2 separate regions of the Homo sapiens genome follow, and region 2 is linked to region 1. The links are contacts of gene promoters, found by promoter capture Hi-C in human tissues and cell types (Jung and others, 2019). All regions are on one chromosome and are shown on one strand. The core of a region is centred on a gene start or on the middle of the fragment in contact, and the rest is flanking DNA. Distances in the headings are between cores, read along the strand shown.

Evidence for each region. Contacts are between HindIII fragments. The study calls those that stand out against the background at their distance.
Region 2: a contact is called between a fragment that was not itself captured here and the fragment with the promoter of IGSF6 in region 1, in 1 of the 25 tissues and cell types used here (hippocampus).

What each region holds. Positions count from the first base shown.
Region 1 is chr16:21,648,130-21,655,403 of GRCh38, forward strand. It overlaps IGSF6 (immunoglobulin superfamily member 6), which reads right to left and starts at 4,479. Exons shown (of 6, transcript NM_005849.4): 1 at 4,403-4,479. The coding sequence starts at 4,469. METTL9 (methyltransferase 9, His-X-His N1(pi)-histidine) reads left to right here. Exons shown (of 5, transcript NM_016025.5): 5 at 7,098-7,274. The HindIII fragment of the contact is 6,081 bases long and covers 2,380-7,274 here.
Region 2 is chr16:21,810,500-21,817,773 of GRCh38, forward strand. It overlaps the pseudogene RRN3P1. Among named protein-coding and RNA genes, the nearest start is that of NPIPB4, 44 kb to the right of the region's middle. The HindIII fragment of the contact is 9,076 bases long and covers 1-7,274 here.

The DNA of each region.
Region 1 (7,274 bases), core at 3,229-5,728:
CAGGGACCATATGAGCTCGCCAGGCCATAGCTAAGCAGATTTGGTTTCTCCCTGGCGTGTGTGCTGCTTTGTAGGCCCTTGTAGCATTTATCTTATTTAATTAACAATATTGTGATAAAGAGCACAGACTTGAGTTCAAATCCTAGCTCTGCCTGTTCCCAGCATTATAATCTCAGTATCTCAGTTTCCTCATTAGAAAATGGGGATAGTATTGTTGACCTCATGCAGTTAGTGTGACGTTCAAGATGATGCCTAGGAAGTGTTTACCTGCCTAAGCTATAGTAAGTATTAAATACAAGGGAGCGATTGCTGCTGCAGCCGCCACTGCTACTGTTCCCACAGTGTCAGATGGCTGTTGGAGAGATGGTTGTGGACGTCTAGCCACAAGGTGTTCACAGAGCTGGGATTAGTCACCCACTCCAGTGTACTGTCCACCATGTGGTGCTCTTCCAAGTTATGAGGATTGAGTCCCCCACCTTGGCCTTTATATCCCAGGCATGTGAAGCTGGAAAGCCACTCGAGTGCACAAATGGAAAGACCCGCCCTAAACCCTTCTTTTGCGGCAGGGGAGGCCATAGGTAAAATAGTATTGGTTGAGACAAATTGGAATTTGTCAAGTTTTTGGTCTGAGTTCCGCCTGGTCATATATTCCCAAATGGTCCTATTTGTGTGAGTTTGTCCTTTGCTACTGTAAATGAAACTGAAAAGTCATCCAAGTGGTCTGATGCTTAATTTTCAGACAGGGGCTTTTTTCTCTTAGCGTTTCTCTTATGGATCCCCATTCATAACAGCAGAGGAATTAAAGTTAGAATCATGGCGTTTGTGATGCGAGTCTCTTCTCACCATGTTTTTTTGTTTTTGTTTTCATTTTTGTTATTGTTTTTGGACAGAGTCTCTGTCTCCCAGGCTGGAGTGCAATGGTGCAATCACGGCACACTGCAACTGTGACCTCCCAGGTTCAAGCCATCATCCTGCCTTAGCTTCTCAAAAGTAGCTGGGACTGTAGGCCTGCAGCACTGTGCCCAGCTAATTTTTGTATTTTTTGTAGAGACAGGGTTTCACCTTGTTACCTAGGCTGATCTTGCACCCCTAAACTCAAGCGACCCGCTTGCCTCGGCCTTCCAAAGTGCTGGGATTACAGGTGTGAGCCACTGCGCCTTGCTCTCTTCTCATCATGTTATATTTTAGTATTTGTGCAACATGAGATGAGCTGGGAGCTCTGTGGTGACCTGATAAATGCAAACCAGACAAGAGGGTGCAGTCACCTGGAGGAGGCCTGCAAGCTTCTCTGAGCTTCGTGTCTGTGGGAGGCCCAGCTCAGCTCCATCTCCAGCCAAGGGGATTGGATTCCCTCTCAAGTCTGAGAAATACAACCTCATGTCTCCTGCCCAGACTCAAGCACCTTACAAGTACAGTGAAACATTTTATAGTATATACTGAGTGGAAATTTAAAATGGAATTGGGTCTGCCAAAACTTAGCAAAGTTAAGCACTGTCTCAGTCTCAAGTCATCTTTCAGATAATGTTTTTATTTTTATTTGTAAAATTATTTTTAAAAAGTGGACGATTCCATTATTTACACATTTTTATTTTTGAGATAGGGTCCCACTGTGTCGCCCAAACTGGAATGCAGTGGTGTGATCTTGGCTAACTTACTGTAGCCTTTGTCTTCTGGGCTCAAGCAATCCTCTCACTGCAGCCTCTGGAGTAGCTGAGACTATAGGTGTGCACCACCACGCCTGGCTAATTTTTTTATTTTTAGTAGAGACAGGGTTTTGCGATGTTGGCCAGCCTGGTCTTAAACTCCTGGGCTCAAGCAATCCACTCGCCTCAGCCTTCCAAATTGGGTAGTGTTTTTAAAAGGGAAGCCAAAGAGCCAGGCGTGGTGGTGTGGCCATTAGTCACAGCTACTCAGGAGGCTGAGACCGGAGGCTGATTGAGCCCAGGAATTCCAGGCTGCAGTGAGCTGTGATGGCACCACTGCACTCCAGCCTGGGCAGCATTGTGAGTCCCTGTCTCTATTAAAGGAATAGAGTCTGGACGTGCACTCCAGCCTGGGCAGCATTGTGAGATCCTGTCTCTATAAAAGGAATAGAGGCTGGGCATGGTGGCTCACGCCTGTAATCCCAGCACTTTGGGATGCCGAGGCGGGCAGATCACCTGAGGTCAGGCGTTCGAGACTAGCCTGGCCAACATGGTAAAACCCCATCTTTACTAAAAATACAAAAAATTAGCCAGGTGTGGTGGTGGACGCCTGTAATCCCAGCTACTTGGGAGGCTGAAGCAGGAGAATCGCTTGAACGTAGGAGGTGGAGGTTGCAGTGAGCTGAGATTGTGCCACTGCACTCTAGCCTGGGTGACAGAGTGAGACTCTTGTCTCAAAAAAAAAAAAAAAAAAAATAGAGGTTGGGGTGGCGGGGATAGCTGACTTTCAACACTTTTCTTTAAAAACTAGTAGTATAGGATAAAAACAGGTATTTGTAACTTTGGAATTTCATATCTCTACTTATTTCCACCTTCTTCCCAATTAGGCTATGTGTGGGAGAAAACCAATTGTAATGATTTCCTCTGTGAGCAGGAACTTGTGATGAAACTGTGGTTCCCTCCCCCAACCAGTTAGGCAACCTATTAACAAAAAAGAGAAGTTTGGATATGTCACACCACAGCCTGCTTCTGTGAATGATTTCTTTTAAGAATCCTCATATTCTAGGAATTGTTTTTTAAACACAGTATCCAATGAAAAGGTTGAAGATTTATTTCCTCCATGGAGGGAATAGAAAGATTATTCTTATTATTTTAAAAAACCATATTGAGGCTGGGCATGGTGGCTCATGCCTGTAATCCCAGCATTATGGGAGGCCGAGGCGGGCGGATCACGAGGTCAGGAGATCGAGACCATCCTGGCTAACACGGTGAAACGCTGTCTCTACTAAAAATACAAAAAATTAGCCGGGTGTGGTGGCAGATGCCTGTAGTCCCAGCTACTCGGGAGGCTGAGGCAGGAGAATGGCGTGAACCCGGGAGGCGGAGCTTGCAGTGAGCCGAGATCTTGCCACTGCACTCCAGCCTGGGTGACAGAGCGAGACTCCGTCTCAAACAAACAAAAAAGCCATATTGAAAGTAGGAAGAGAACTAATTCTTGACATTTAAACAAAGCTGTCTCTCTATCTAGTAAGTAAGAAGTAAGTAAATGTCTTGCTCTGTTGCCCAGGCTGGAGTGCAGTGGCACAATCACAGCTCCCTATAGCCTGAAAGTCCTGGGCTCAAGTGATCCTCCTGCCTCAGCCTCCCAGGTGGGTGGGACTGCAGGTGCAGTGCAGGTGCCATCACGCCCAGCTATTTTTTTTTCTTGTGTAGAAATGGGGGTCTCATTATGTTGTTCATGCTGGTCTTGAACTCCTGAGCTCAAGTGATCCTCTCACCTTGGCCCCCAAAGTGCTGGGATTACAGGCATGAACCACCACGCCCAGCCCAAAGCTTTATTATATTAGATTTCAAATTTCTAACATATCAAAGTAGCGAAGTAGTACAGTCAACCCCCTGCCATCACATGGCTTCGACCCAATCTTGTTTCTTTTCTCCTCCCACCTACTCCCTCACTCCCATATTATTTTAGAGCAAATCCCAGCCATTTTATCTGCATCTTTCAGAATATATCTCTAAAAGACAGGAATTCTTCTTTAAAATAATGCTAATTAAAATAGTCTATGAAAGTAATATATACTTATTAGCAAAAAACAGGTTATTAAAAGTAGAAGCAAAAAGTCACCCATAGTCCTTTTGCCTGAAATAACTCCCATTAACATTTTGATATATTTCTTCACAGATGAGAAAAAATTAAGAACTTTCCCCCCTTCCCTGCCCTATAATCCAAATTGTGTGGGCAAATCTGAGATTACTAGATGTATTGGAAATCCTTTCTCTTTCATAGATAAAAAAACAGAAGTAGACAGAATTTTAAAAATAGATATACTATGGGATGGCTATTGGAGTCATGGCAGTTTTTTTTTTCTTAAATGAAAAGTACTTTTATAGAAATTGTTCTTTGAAAATATTCAGCAAATAATCATTTATTGCTTTCTATGTGCAGATCAAGTTTGTATGATAATTAAATTATTGATAACTTATACCTACGATTTTAAGAATATTTTCAACCCTTTGGTCAGATTGTCTCCAATTAGCATAATAGCAAAGAGACTTTTCAAGGTTAATATGAAACTTTTTCTCAGCTATTTTTTTATTGTCTATTTCTCAGGGGAAAAAGGAAACTTATCCTCTTAGGCAGTTTTCATAATGTTATACATTTAAAAATTAATCTGAAGGAGCTTAAAATATAAATGCATTAGGTGAAAAATAGCAGTTGATTTAAATAAAATGAAGGAGGAGAAGAAAAAGAACCTTACCGACACAAAATAGAATGAGATTGGTTTGCAGATGGCGAGCGATGTTGCTTCTGCTCGCAGTCCCCATTTCTGTGTATGCCGGGGCGGGTTGGGGTGTGTATTTGAAAGGAAAGTTGGCTTTCTTTTTTCAGAAGGGAAGAAGAGCTGAAGAGAGGAACCTCTTATGAAGGAACCATAATCAGGAACTTTTTGAAATTGTGCAAGGATGGCTTCACCATTTAACATTGAGATTTTGGCCTGGAGCACATTTAGAAATGTGCATATCTTTTTTTTTTCCATGGATTTTACAGTTGTCATAGGTGTTAGATGTTTCTGGGTGAGATTTTGATTTACACCTAGCACATATTTCCAGGAAGGAGTATTGTTTGACAAATAATTCGTACTTGGATTTTTCAGAACAGTTCAGTCACTGTCTAGGGTACCTGCTCTGGGTGCCACTCTGGGCCAGTAACTGCTGGGAACAAAGAACAGCAGAAGGAGAAGTGGCTTTGTGTAGAGATGAGAAAAGTTAGTAAACAACACATTCTAATGCAGCGAATAAATAAATTGTCTGTTATTAACTTTTTGTACTCCAGTTTTGAATCCAAAGACACCTGCCTTCCCCCCTTTTTTGACAGGGTCTCTATCACCCAGGCTGGAATGCAGTGGCAAGATTGCAGGTCATTGCAGCCTCAGCTTCCTGAGTAGCTGGGACTACAGGCATGCACCACCACCCCTGGCTAATTTTTTTTTTTTTTTGTAGATTCTGTGTTGTCTAGGCTAGTCCTGCCCTCAAGCGATCCCCCTGCCTTGGCCTCCCAAAGTGTTAGGATTACAGGTGTGAGCCACCATGCCTGGCCCAAAGACCCCCTTTTAATGTGTTGAGAAACAAATATGTGGGCCCTCTGTCCTCTGTGTCCTCTCCCCCAGCACTTAGTGGTGATTCAGTAAGGGTCTTCTTTGTAAAGCAGCAGAAACAGACTCAGGCTGACTTAAAAGGAAATTTATGCAAACATTTGAAGGTAGATCCTAGAGTCACTGGGAGGGCTAGTGAATCTTGTGTGGGGTCCACAGCCAGGAAGAATGCCTCAAATCACACCATAAACAGGTCTGAAGAGGATGCTACTGCCACTGCCAAACACTAGGTGCCATCAGCCCTGTTGTCAGCATCGCTCAACCACTGCCCCAGCCCCTTGGTCTCACTGCCATTGCTCCACCCCCAGAGAAGGAGAAGCTCACATCCCCACTACTCTGGGTCACTGGCTCTCCATTCCAGGGCATGGGCAAGTGTGCCTGGCTTAGGCTGCGTGCCAGTGCCTCAGCTGCACGGCAGGCCAGGAAAGCGGCTCCCAGGCCTTGTGTCTCTCCCAGACTCTGGGCAGGCAATTCCCCAGACATGGGAAGAGCGTCATCTGCACCACTGAAAATTATGAAAAATCTCCCCACCATGATATGATGTCTGTGCCCTTGGCATCTGCTCATGATATATTTTCTCATTAACAGAAAGTTATTCTCAGTCTGTTTTGTTTTTTTTTTTTTTTTTTTTTTTGAGACAGAGTCTCGCTCTGTCGCCCAGGCTGGAGTGCAGTGGCACGATCTTGGCTCGCTGCAAGCTCCGCCTCCCGGGTTCACACCATTCTCCTGCCTCAGCCTCCCAAGTAGCTGGGACTACAGGTGCATGTTGCCATGCCCAGCTAATTTTTTTGTATTTTTTTTAGTAGAGACGGGGTTTCACTGTGTTAGTCAGGATGGTCTTGATCTCCTGACCTCGTGATCCGCCCACCTCGGCCTCCCAAAGTGCTGGGATTACAGGCATGTGCCACCACGCCCGGCCTCAATCTGGTTTTAACACTTCAACAGATGTATGTAGTTTTTGTATCACCATAGCACCTAAAAAGTACCCCCAAAGTTAAATATACTGTCATCTCTGTGTGTGTGTCTGTAGTCAGTGCCAGGTTTGTATGTGAATTTGAGGACCTTCCCTAGTCCCCTTGTCCCCCAGGCATCTCCTGCTCATAGGTTTGGAAATGACTGATAGAGGCTTCATCTCTAGTCCAAGAAATGCTGGACGGTGTATCCATCCTACTGTTCCATCTCTCTCTGGTCCTGGAGCTTAATGTTTATGAAATTGTTCTGAAAAGGCAAAGAATGAGTCAACTTCCCTAGAAAAACTCCCCAATGATCTGCTTTTCTAAATTAAAATCCTTCATGAGCCTGTTTTTATTTTCAGCCTAATAAATCTCTCTAGGTAGTAAGTTGCATAAGTTTACTATGCCAGTGGTATTTTCTTGCATTTGTCCAAAACTGTCCTTCAGATATTACATGTTGCTCTCTGTTTCAGTATTCCAGCATTTAATGACCAGTTTTCCAAACCCATTAACCATTACACCCTGCAGTCAGTCTATTGGCAGATACTACCCAAAACTGTCAGAGAAGATAACAGTGTGGGGCCTTGGATCCAGACAAACCTGGGCTTACATTTCCATACTGACACTCATTAACCTTGCAAGCGTGGGCAAGTTCTTCACCCCTTCTGAGTCTGTTCTTTATCTGCCCACCTGTCTCAAAGAGTACCTGGGAAGTACAAAAGAGGTAACTCATGAAGCCCTCAGGCTTGGAACGTACCAAGTCCTTGGTAGATATGGCTCCTCCCTGCTTCCCTCTTTAAATCACTTGTTTGTTCAAGAATTTAACTGAATGTTCTTATTTGTATTAGTAGGTGGCAAGTGGGAGAAACCATCAGAAATTTTGGAAATCAAAGGACAGAACTGGGAAGAACAAGTGAATAGTCTGCCTGAAGTTTTCAGAAAAGCTGGTTTTGTTATCGAAGCTTTCACCAGACTACCATACCTGTGTGAAGGCGACATGTATAATGACTACTACGTTCTGGATG
Region 2 (7,274 bases), core at 3,107-5,606, 160 kb after region 1:
TGGATAGCATATCTGTTGAAGATAAAAACAAAATTCCAACCACCATACAAAATTGGGGGAGAATCTGCATACGAACTTTGAAAAACAATTAAAGAGAATAAATAGAAAATGGAAATGCCACTTTTTGTAGAATGTAATGTTTCCTCAAGTGGATACAAAAAAAAAAATGCAATGTAAGACTCAAGCTTTAATACTATTAACATTTTATAATTTTTACTAATTGATTACAATTTTCTTGAGAATTAAACATTCAAAATAAGGAAAAGTATACTCATGATGGTACATATCTTGCTATTATTTGCAAGGCTCTGTGATATGTGTCAAAATTTGCAGGAAGATCTGAAAGAAGAAAAGTTCAGAGTATGAGCATCAAAACAAAACTGAAGGGCGACATGCTTGAAACTAAAAATAAATGCTGGCCGGGCACAGTGGCTCACGCCTGTAATCCCAGCACTCTGGGAGGCCGAGGTGGGTGGATCACCTGAGGTCAGGAGTTCGAGACCAGCCTGACCAATATGGTGAAACCCCATCTCTACTAAAAATACAAAAATTAGCCGGGCATGGTGGCAAACGCCTGTAGTCCCATCTACTCAGGAGGCTGAAGCAGGAGAATCACTTGAACCTAGGAGGTGAAGGCTGCAGCGAACCAAGATCACACCACTGTACTCCAGCCTGGGCAACAGAGCGAGACTCTGTCTCAAAAAACAAACAAACAAACAAAAAGTGACATACTTGAAGCTAAAAACACATGCTAACCAAAACGGAATAATTTATCAGAGAAATAATAATTTCAAGACTTTTCTCCACCAGCATCAATGAAAATTAAATGGACTAATTATATAAATAATGCATTCAGGACAACTGACTGCATATCAATGGTAAATATAACAAAAAGATTACATCAAAAGTTGTCATTTGTTGCAGTCTACTTATTAGAATAGATGCCAGGTATTCTGTGCTTTACTTTTTTTTTTTTAAAGAAGACAGAGTCTTGCCACCAGGCAGAGCTTGAACTCCTGGGCTCAAGCAATCCACCCACTTAAGCCTCCCAGGTAGCTGTGACTAAAGACACACACTACCCTGCCTAGTTCTACTTTAAGCCTTTTTTAAGAAAATATTTGAAAAAAAATGTTTTTTTGCAGAGACAAGGTCTCACTATGTTGCCCAGGCTGGTCTCAAACTCTTGGCCTCAAGTGATCCTCCCATCTTGGCCTCCCAAAATGCTGGGATTATGGGTGTAAGCTACTGTGCCCAGGCTTTAAACCTTTTTATACTTACTATCATCTTCATCATCAGAATCTGAAACATCTACATCGCCTTCCTTAATGATCACTCAGGCTTTTGAGGGAAAAAGAAAATATGTTGTTCTGTCATTGATCTAGACAATGAATGGCTATACAAAAAAAGTTATTGACCTAGACAATGAACAGCTATAAAAAAAGTTATTTTTCCATAATCCAAAGTTAGCCCAATGATTAATTAAATGCACAATCTGAAAAAAAGTAATGCAACTTTATAGTTTTTAAATGGCTAAAAATTCCTAGATTTCACCAGGAGTTCAATAAAGCAAGTTATAATTCATCAAACTCACAGCAACAAATGAATCTAGACACCTCCATAGGGGTCATTACGGGGAATATATGTCTACCAGACCTGGTGCCAATATGCATCTGGAATCTTCCATGGTAGCAGTCTCTCATATATAAGGGGAAGGTGGTATTTTAACAAAGAAGTATTAAAAAGAAAAGAAAAGAAAATTCCAAGCAAGCAAAGAGTAATGACTTACGAGGCACAAAATGGGAAGCAATCATGCTGAGACACGGTCTGAGGAAAACAGTCTATGCTGATACAAGATTACCAAGAAAAGCCAAATACTCTTCCACTACTGTTTGACTTCTATTCAACCAAGGCAATCTCTAGAGTGGGGGAAGAAAGATAAAAGCAGCATGTTATTAATATAACATATACTATTACCAAAGTTCTGAATTACATACTTGACAGTAAAATAAATGGTGAACTTACCAATATAATACTGATAAGTTGCTCAAAGTCTTTTGTCAAGTACATGACAGAAGAACGGAATTCTAGCAGCCAGTTGATGATCTGGTCATCCTTAAGTTAAACAAAGAGTACTTTCAAAATCACAAATCCTCTAAGATAACAGAAATTTACAGCTATCTTATATCAATCATTTATCAAGAATAGGTTGGGGGGAAAAGGTCACAAACTTGGAAGGAAATCAAAACTGGGTATTAAAACAGAAAAAGATGTCACAATAAACTTAATCGTTTTAAGAAAGTAATCTAGTAACTCTAATACACAGGAGAAAGACTTAAATGCAATACTTCAGCCTGATCACTTTTGTTTGCCCTGAAAAAGTGAAATCACCTCAAATGTTGACACCTGGGACTTTTAAAAACTGCAGAATTCTAGCAGATTGAAATATTAGAAGATCACAAAGGAACAATAGCTACCTCTATTTCCTCTATATTCAAGCTGACCAGGAAGCATGCTGATAAAATTCAGTCTAGGCTGATCAATTGGGGTCATGAATAAACATAACTTTTCTAAACCAAATCTGTGGCTGAGTTTAAATATATTATGATGTGTTTGTTCTGTATAAATGATAGCCCCATTCCTCCATGAAATATTTTTCAGGCAATCAAATTACTGTTCATAGTAATTGTTAGTGACATGAGAAGAACTGCTAAATTTGAAACGCAAGGTATAAAATACAGTGTCAATTATGTAAAATATTACTATATTAATTATATTCATGCATATATACTGCACAGGACAAAAACCATTAAGAAAAAGCCCCTAATTTGTGGAAGGCTTAGACATATAAATAAAAGCAACACAAGGTCATCATACCTACAGGGATATTCATATGGAGTTATCATTTAGTGAGAATACACCATATGCCAGGCATGGTGCCTGACACTCCGCATATATATCTTCTTCTAATCCTAAGAACTCTGCAAGATGTTTAGTTATTCCCATTTTGCTGTTCAGGAAGCTGAGGCTAAGAACGATTAATAAGCAATCTGCCCAACCAAGAGGCCAGTAAAGAAGCAGGTCCAAACCCATCTGTCTCGGTCAAGGCTATCCTCTGTCCACCATCCCACATGCCTCCCTATATGCGGAGAAGAAGCTGTCCCCTTTTCCCCACCTTAATTCAGCTACTGAGTGCTTACTATGCCATATCCATGTGTCAAACTCCCACAGATCAACCATTTTCTGATGAAATCCCAAGTAGCCTGGCAGTAAAATAAAGTAAAACCACAACTCATTTGTACTATGGTAATTTCATATGTCCAAAACTGTTAAGGATAACATTAACGGTAGCTCACTAAGGCCAAAGGCATGTAGAAAACAAGCTAAGTTAGTGTGTAAATAAAATAATCTATCCTATCTCTTTTCCACTAAAAAGACTGCAACAAAACTATAAGGATAACATTTAAACTGTACCATTTTTAAAAGTAAATCAGGCTGGGGGTGGTGGCTCACACCTGTAATCCCAACACTTTGGGAGGCCGAGGTGGGTGGATCACCTGAGGTTGGGAGTTCGAGACGAGCCTAACCAACATGGAGAAACCCCGTCTCTACTAAAAATACAAAATTAGCTGGGCGTGGTGGTGCATGCCCATAATCCCAGCTACTCGGGAGGCTGAGGCAGGAGAATTACTTAAAAAACTCGGAGGCAGAGGTTGCAGTGAGCCAAGATCATGCCACTGCACTCCAGCCTGGGCAACAAGAGCAAAACTATGTCTCAAAAAGAAAAAAAAAAAAGTAAATCAGTTGCAGACTTTGATGCTTTAGTACTGAACTATTATTATTTCTACTAGCAGGCAGGAACAGTGGCTCATGCCTGTAATCCCAGCACTTTTCGGAGGCCAAGGCAGGAGGAAACTGCTTGAGCCCAGGAATTTGAGACCAGCCTGGGCAACATAGGGAGACCTCGTCTCTAGAAAAATTAGCCAGGCATGGTAGCACATGCTTGTGGTCCCAGGTGCTCGGGAGCCTGAGGTGGGAAGATTGCTTGAGCCTGGGAGGTTGAGGCTGCAGTGAGCCATGATCGGGCCCATTACACTCCAGCCTGGGTGACACAGCGAGACCCTGTCTCAAGACGAAAAAAGTTCTACTTGCAACACTCCACACAACTAGTGCAATTCTTGGTATGTCAAAATACCAAGAATGAGAACTGCTGATACAAAATACAGTGGAACACAAAGAAAATGTCCCTTTGTATCTGGGAAAGGAGGCAGGGGTCAGGAAAAGCTTTAAAGAGAAAGTGATGCTTCAGCTGTCTTTAAACAGTAACACAGTTGAGTCTTTTCTGGAAGTTCTGCTTCTTACAGAAGGAAAAGTATGTTTTCAGAAAACTGAAAAATGTTCAGTATGGCTGGCATGTATAGTGACCAAGCCAACAGATAATAAATCTGGGGAACAAAGAAGCACCAAATAGACCATGGAGGGCCTTGTAAACCAGATCTGTAACTAGAGAGATCTGGAAGTGTGGGAAATAGACTCAATGAAGGAACAACCATGTGCTTAGAGAGAACCAGGGAAAGCTCCATGAAAGATGGAGCCCAGCCAAGAGTGGACATGATAAGTTTGGAGCATCTATGATGATTCTGGGTAAATGCATCTAACAGACAGTTAAGAAACAAGTCTAGGCCGGGTGCAGTGGCTCACGTCTATAATCCCAGCACTTTGGGAGGCTGAGGCGGGTGGATCACTTGAGGTCAGGAGTTCGAGACCAGCCTGGCCAGCATGGTGAAACCCCAAATCTACTGAAAATACAAAAAAATTAGCTGGGCGTGGTGGCACAGCTACTCAGGAGGCTGAGGTGGGAGGATGGCTTGAACCCAGGAGGCAGAGGTTGCAGTGAGCCAAGATCATCCCACTACACTACAGCCTAGGTGACAGAGCAAGACTCTGTTCTGCCCATCCCCAAAAATGAAAATGAAATAAGTCTGGAGCCCACAAGAGCAATCTTGGCTACAGACACAAATATATTAGGACACAGGTAGATTTCAAAGCCATGAAGGGAGATGAGGAGATCACACAGAAGAATCAACAGAGTGAGAAAAGAGTCAAGTTTTGAAGCCCAATCAACACCAAATTTAAGATCAAGAACCTATCGAGAGATACTAGAGCTTAAAGGATCACTGGCCGGGTGTGGTGGCTCACACCTCTAATCCTAGCACTTTGGGAGTCCAAGGCGGGTGGATCACGAGGTCAGAAGATCGATACCATCCTGGCTAACATGGTGAAACCCCATCTCTACTAAAAATACAAAAAATTAGCTGGGGGTGGTGGCGGGCGCGTGTAGTCCCAGCTACTCGGGAGGCTGAGGTAGGAGAATCACTTGAACTCGGGAGGTGGAGCTTGCAGTGAGCCAAGATTGCGTCATTGCACTCCAGCCTGGGCGACAGAGCAAAAAAAAAAAAAAAAAAAAAAAGAGAGAGATTAAAGGATCAGAAGACAGGAGGATCAGAAACACTGAAGTTTTAAGAAGTGGGTGGCCAACAGTGTCGGCTGATACAAGGAATACAAGGCTTAAAAAAGTAAGTCCACTGAGGCTGGGCTCAGTGGCTCACACTTGTAATCCCAGCACTTTGGGAGGCCGAGGCAGGCAGGTCACCTGAGGTCAGGAGTTCAAGACCAGCCTGGCCAACATGGTGAAACCCCGTTTCTACTAAAAATAAAAAAATTAACCAGGCATGGTGGCGGGTGCCTGTAATCTCAGCTATTTGGGAGGCTGAGGCAGGAGAATTGCTTGAACCCAGGAGGCAAAGGTTGCAGGGAGCCCATATCACACCACTGCACTCCAGCCTGGGTGACAAGAAGGAGACTTTGTCTCAAAAAAAGTCCACTGAAATCAGCATGTAAAAAAAAAACATGGGTAATCTGTCAGGGTAATTACTACAGTGATAAGAACAGTGGACTTAAATGTGAGTGAGAAATGATACAGCACAGTCAGCTGGAACAAAAACAACAGATGACAATTACTGCCCTTACTTTGAGTCAGAGACTGTTCTAAGTGCTTCTTGCATATTAGCTCATTGAATCCTTGTTAAGTATTTCCATGTTTAAAGCCAGGCACAGTGGCATGCACCTATAGTCCCAGCTTTTTAGAAGGCTGAAGAGAAAGGATCATTTGAGGCCAGGAGTTCAAGGCTGTAGTGCACTATGATCACACCTGTGAATAGCTAGAGCAACACAGCAAGACCACATCTCTTAAAAAACAAAACACTCCATATTTTTTAAATCTCTATTGTTTTCTTGGTTTCACACAGTGGAAAATAGAGGCAGAGAGGTTAAAACAATTTGCTCAAGATCACACACTGGATAATAAAATTGGAATTTCATTCCAGGCAATCTAACTACCACTGCCATGGTAATAAACCATTCTCTTCAAAACTGGGCAGTAAAGGAAGAATGGTGAAACAAAATGTATTAAGGTTTTACTACATGATAGGTGTATCTCGAACCTGGAAATGCTGAAACAGTGGTTTGTTTTTTTTTTTTGGTTTGTTTTAGCTTTAAAGAGACAAAAGAGTTGCATGCAGCATGGAGGAAAGAGGTAGTAATCTAATAGAAAGGAAGCATTAGAGCAGGGTTTCCCAGCCTCAACACTGTTGTCATTTGGGGCTGGATCACTCTTGGTTATGGGAGGCTGCCCTGTGCACTGTGAGATGTTTAGCAGCATCTCTGTCATTCACCCACTAGATGCCAGTAGCACCCTTTCCTCCCAGTTGTGACAAAAATATCTGCAGCCATCACCAAATGTCTTCTAGGGGGTAAAACTGTCCCTGGTTGAGAACCACCAGATTAAAGTAAGGGAGGACCATGGAGAGAGCAAGTTCTGCAGAACAGAATGGGACCCAAAGAGCAAACTATGTCTGTATAAAGTGGCAATAATTTTGCTAATGATCAAACACAAAATTAATTACCTTTATGTCTGGATCTAACAGCTGGTTCTTCAACAACTCAAAGTCATTTGTTTCACCCTTAACAAGAAGGGGAAAGAATTAAGTTATGCTTTTGTTTCCTGTTTAGTATCAACAGCAAGACTTTTAACCGTACTTTAACATCAGATGAAATTATAAAAGGAACACTAACTTTCACATGTCAATTGCGGATTATAAAATCATGACTACAAAAATTTAAACACTCATGTTAGTGCAGCCAGAGGGCTTGGAAAAAGGAAAATGATAAACTACATTTAGCTATACTTCTGTATTGACATTTGAATATAATAGTTG